Linked DNA regions of Homo sapiens: region 1 is linked to region 2. The links are contacts of gene promoters, found by promoter capture Hi-C in human tissues and cell types (Jung and others, 2019). All regions are on one chromosome and are shown on one strand. The core of a region is centred on a gene start or on the middle of the fragment in contact, and the rest is flanking DNA. Distances in the headings are between cores, read along the strand shown.

Region 1 (2,700 bases), core at 123-2,622, 160 kb before region 2:
AGTGCAATGGCGCAGTCTCGGCTCACTGCAACCTCTGCCTCCCGGATTCAAGCGATTCTCGTGCCTCAGCCTCCCCAGCAGTTGGGATTACAGGCGTCCGCCATCATGCCCAGCTATTTTTTGTATTTTTAGTAGAGAAAGGGTTTCGCTATGTTGGCCAGGCTGGTCTCGAACTCCTGACCTCAAGTGATCTGCCCACCTCGGCCTCCTAAGATGCTGGGATTACAGGCGTGAGCCACTGCGCCTGGCCTTATTTATTTATTTATTTATTTATTTATTTATTTATTTATTTATTTTAGGTTACCACTTAAGAGCGTTTACGAGGTAACAAGCAGTTACCATTCTTTATGCATAGACAGCAGTTCTCCATTCTTTATGTTATTGGAGAATACGCCTTAGCCCCATTTTGCAGATGAAAAGGTGCAGAGCGTGAAGGCTTGCCCAAGCTCACTCATCCTCTCCACTCTCAACAGAAGTGCAGGCAAACTCATCGGACAAGCTCTAATCAATGCTATCAGCTCTGAGAAAGCGGCCTTGCGGCCTGGAGGCAGCGGTTTTTCAGAGCCCGTGCAGGTAGAGGCGCCCAGTGTGGATCTCACGTCGCGCTGGGAAAGGCCTGAGCCCAAGGCTGGGTTCTCCTGCCTCCCCTGCTCACCAGCTGTGTTGCCTTGGGCATCTTCCTCACCAGGTGCTTTGAATCTCTCATCCTCACAAGCACTCTATAAGGCAGCTAGGACCCCCATTTTCCAGACACGCATCTGAAGCTCAGAATGGTCGAGTAACTTGCCCAGAGTCACACGGCTGCTGGGCTTCTATCCCTGGTCCGCCTGACCCCCACCCCCACCCCCACAAAGCCTGTATCTGTTTTCACTCGACCCTAATCTCTCTCCTCTGTAGAGGAATAGCAGTAAACCACACTAATTACCAATTCCCGTCTCAGGGGCCAGGCCTCTGCCAACGCCCTGTTATCTTTGAGCCTCAGTTTCCCCGGCTGCAAAGTGTAAGATGAAAGCGCAAGCGGCCCAGTTCCGGCTTCTGTCTGTCCGCCTGCTTGTCCGTCGGTCCTTCCCCTCCCGCCCCATCCCCGGGGCTCACCGTCCGCGGGCTGCTGGAAGTTGATGTAGGCGTAGCCCAGCGAGCGCCGGGTGGCTACATCGCGGCACACGCGGATGGACAGGATGGGGCCGGCGGGAGAGAACTTCTCATAGAGCATGGCCTCGGTCACGTCGGGGTGCAGATCGCCCACGTAAAGCGAGGCAAGCGGGTAGCCAGAACCGCTGGCGTTCATGGTGGGCAGGGGGCCGGGGCTGCGGGGCAAGCAGGAGCCGGGTCACCCAGCAGCCCCGCGCTCACCCGGGCGGAAGCCCTCCTTCCTGGGCGCGGGCCCGCCCCTTCCCTTTACCGCCCCCGCGTCCCTGCGCACCAATCGTGGGCGCGCTCGGACGCCCCTCCCCCGGGATCCCTCCTGGGCCCACCCCCCACCTGCGAGCACTTGGGGATCTAAAAGCTACAGGTGGGGACACCTCTGACCCCGCCCTGGGAGGCGGAAAAAGCCTTCAACCTGGCCTTGAGCAGGGCTGCTGGGACTTGAGTGGAGCTCTCAAAACCCCCAGCTCTTTTGAAAGAGCCGAGGACTGGGACGGAAAGGACGCAGGGGACTGAGTTCTAACCCCGGAACAGATGATCATCTTTCTGAACCCGTTTCCCTTCTCTGTAAAATGGGAATGATTCCCTCCTGACAAGAATGAAAGGAGACCCAAACCGCGCTTTTTGCGTTTCACACACAAACGGAATTCCGAACAGGCCACTGTTTCAAAGCTTGTGTAGAGAATTTTACCCTGCTCCATTGAAGATGTCTTCCTCCAGAGAGCCTGATCCAGTCCCACCGTTTCGCACCAAGGATGGAAATGGCTTTGAGACATGAGAACTGGAGACCACTAAGGCCTTTCTTGGTACTGGCTCATATTACCAAGACCCCTTTTCCTGGGATATTCCCTGTCCCTCTGCTAAGCCATTACACATCCATTACACCAGGGAGGTTCACTGAGTTACTTGTGGCTCAGCCTAAATGCGGACAATTGGGAACTAATAGCAGAGCAAGACCTAAACAGAGCAAGACTGTGAATCTGAGCTTGCAGCGTCAATCTGTGGTATAGGGACATTAAAAACAACACAAAAACAAAACAACTACTCCACTGAGCACCAATACTTCACTTTTCCTCTGATAGGACTTTCCTGGTCTCACTGATCCAACAGAGCAGGTAGGCCCCCACTGACTTTTGGTTGAGTGTGGCTTCAACAGGTGGAACAGCTCCTAAACTAGGGACAGAAGGTGCCCATCTGGCTGTCCAGCCTCAGAGTAGCAAGGAAGCACTAATTCTAATCTTGGGCTAAAAAAGACCCCTCTATCCTGATATTTTTCTCTCCTTGTGGTAATGTGGATGTTTTCAGAAGGGGCAAATCCTGTGAGGAACCAGCTCTGCAGGCCACCATACAGTGTGAGGACAGGTGAGACGCCAGCTTGGTGATGACCAAGACTTATGCAACCATAGGTTACCTATTTCACTGGCTTGGTTGTATCTCAGAGTTAAAAAATGGGGAAGGGATGGTGGGCTCGAATACAATGCAAAATAACTGTCCATACCAAATCTTAGAAGTCACTAAAGAGGACCTAATACCTGCATGGTTTGTTGTGGAAGG
Region 2 (2,700 bases), core at 15-2,514:
GGGAAACTTTCTCCAAGGCACTGGCTTTCGGACTGGTGATCCAAGCCCCAGGGGGGGTGCCGGGACGTTCACAGCTGGAGCCTGGGGAGTGGCTGGCACCAAGCCTGGAGCCCTGCAGAGCCCACTTCTCTCCTTCCTGTTCCCCCAGGTTTAGGCTCAGCAGGTACCAGCCAGATGGTAGTCATGGCAACAGCTGGTGGTCCAGATGCTCCAAAGGAACTGCTCTGCATCCCTGAGGGCAGAGTCCAGAGCCTGTGGTTATCAGTCATTCCTTTAACAAGTATTTATTGATCATCTACTGCATGCTAGGCACGGGTCATACAGCAGTCCCTAAGACAGACTGGGTCCCCATTCTCATGGGGTAACAATAACAATTGCAATAATAAAAAAATGATCTTTTCTTTGTAGTGCTCTGTATGTGTCATGTTTTAGCACAGGCCTTGTCTGTGCATAGTCTGTCTCCTGAATAATAACTCTCACCACAGCCCTGAGATAAGGCCGATTAGCGACACTATTTTACAGAAGAGAAAACTCTGGCTCAGAGAGGTTGAGCAACTCGTCTAAGGTCACACAGCAAGTGTGAGGCAACCAGGCAAGGAAAAGCAAATCCAGCCACTTGGTCTCCCAGCCCCGCTTCACCTATCTCCAAGCCCCTTGGACGTTTTCTGAGCACTCCTGGGTCAGCCTTTTGGCAAACTCGATTTACTGATTCCTCCCGTCCCTGCCTGCGTGGGCTGACAGCTCCATTCAGCAGAGGGGGGCAAAGGAGACCAGGGAGACGAGGGAGGCGAAGGAGATGAGGGAGGCTCGGTGAGCCGAAATGACCCGTCCAAAGTAGCTCAGCTGGGCGGGGGCAGAGGTGGGACCGAAACCCAGAGGCGCCCCGGGACGGCTGGGGCTGGAGCGGGCGCGGAGGGAGGCTCCGGGCGGCTCACCGATGGTAGTGATGACGGTGATGGCGAAGTAGAAGGAGCCGGGGAACTTCCACTGGCGGCCGGCGCGGTGGGGCTCAGCCTGGAGCGCCAGGCGCTCCAGCTCGCGGTAGTCCTCGGCCGAGAAGCCGAACTTCCTCCGGAGAGCGCCCCGCTTCTGGACCAGCAGTCGCTGGCGGCCGCTTTCCGCCTCGGACTCGAGCGCGTCGAAGACAGCAGCGCCCACCAGCAGGTAACACAGGGTGCACAGGACCAGCCCGGCCGCGCGCACGCTCGGCCTCCGCATGGCGCCCCGGCCCCGGTACCCGCCGCGGTCCCAACCTGCTCCGTGTGCCCGGACCGCGCGCTCCGCCCCCTCCAACCCCGGCCCCACGCGGCAGGGTTGTGACGGGCGAGGCGGGGCGACTGCCGGGAACCTGGAGGCTGGGATCGCCACGGGTGGGGGCCGGAAGAACCGCTCCCCTGTCCGCCTCCCACTCGCCTGCCCGGGGTTCATGTGTCTGTGAATAGTGAGATCTGAAGCAAAGGCCCAAACCCCGGGCCTGCAGAAGTCCTGTTCCCGCCACTAACTCATGTTGTGACCTCGTGCCAGTCTTCCGTCCTTCCTTCCGTCCTTCCTTCCTTCCTTTTTCCCTCCCTCCCCTCCCCCCTCCCCTCCCTTCCTCCCTCCCTCCCTCCTTTCCTTCCTTCCTTCCTTTCACTCCTTTCCCCATCCCTCCCTCCCTTCTTCCCTCCCATCCTTCCTCCCTCCGTCCCTCCCTTCCTCCCTCCGTCCCTCCCTTCCTCCCTCCGTCCCTCCCTTCCTCCCTTCGTCCCTTCATCTCTTCTTCCCTTCCTTCTCTCCTTCCTTCCTTCTTTCATTCAGTCAGTCAATCCTCTGACAAATATTTACCAAGCACCTACTGGTGCAAACAACATTCCTGTTGTAAGTAAAAGTGATATCCTAGTGAGGAGGGCCAGCTAACAAACAAGAAACTAATTTAAGACAGGAGTGAGAAAGAAGGAAAAGGGATAGTTTCTTGGGGAAGGTGAACCCCACCATCTAAGGTGGTGCTTAAAACAGAACTGAGCATGACTTGGCAGCCAGAATAGCAGAGGAGCCGGTGTCGCTGGAGCCCAGAGAACTGGGGGGCAGATACTTTGGGGGAGCAGAAGGAAGGCAAAGAGGCAACTTCACACAGGGTCTTACAAGCCCTTATGTGGGTTTATTGAAAGCCATGGAAAGGCTGTATTACAAACACAGGCAAACAAACACACACGCAACACCACCACAATGATCTGATTCATATTTTTTAAAGAGCCCCTGGCTGTCATGGGGAAAAGGGATGGTGGCTAGGAGTGGAGGCCAGTTCGAAGGCTAGTGTAGTCCAAATGTGTGAAGATGGAGAGAAATGAGGGGATCCGGGATGCACCGGGGAGGTGGAGTTGGGCGCCCAGCTGGCCACATTGCCCAGCCTTTCTTGCACTTAGCAGGGTCTATGTGACCAAGCTTTAGCTCATGGAACATGGGCAGAAGTGACATATGCCACTTCCAGGCCTGGCCCATAAAACCCTGCCCTACACGTGCTCCATCTCTTTCCCCCACCAGACGGCTGAATGCAGAGAACTAAAGTCTTTAGAAGAGAGGGAGCCCACAAGGTGGGAAAAACCTGGGGCTGAATGACACATTGCAAGGTTGTCCCCCAACCCCCAATCAGGAGCCCCAGTTTTGAGCTTCTGTTGTATTAAGTCGCTGACGTATGTTAAGCCCCTGAGGCCCAGCCTGCCG

What was found. The method cuts DNA at HindIII sites, captures the fragments that hold promoters and counts their contacts. A contact is called where the count stands out against the background at its distance.
Region 1: the fragment with the promoter of PABPC1L here is called in contact with the fragment with the promoter of KCNK15 in region 2 in 1 of the 25 tissues and cell types used here (mesendoderm cells).

The regions. Positions count from the first base shown.
Region 1 is chr20:44,908,732-44,911,431 of GRCh38, reverse strand. It overlaps PABPC1L (poly(A) binding protein cytoplasmic 1 like), which reads right to left and starts at 1,372. Exons shown (of 15, transcript NM_001372179.1): 1 at 1,096-1,372. The coding sequence starts at 1,288. RefSeq lists a silencer at 1,189-1,518. The HindIII fragment of the contact is 11,748 bases long and covers 1-2,700 here.
Region 2 is chr20:44,744,429-44,747,128 of GRCh38, reverse strand. KCNK15 (potassium two pore domain channel subfamily K member 15) reads right to left here and starts at 1,264. Exons shown (of 2, transcript NM_022358.4): 1 at 936-1,264. The coding sequence starts at 1,218. KCNK15-AS1 (KCNK15 and WISP2 antisense RNA 1) reads left to right here and starts at 902. Exons shown (of 5, transcript NR_132377.1): 1 at 902-1,164. The HindIII fragment of the contact is 14,439 bases long and covers 1-2,700 here.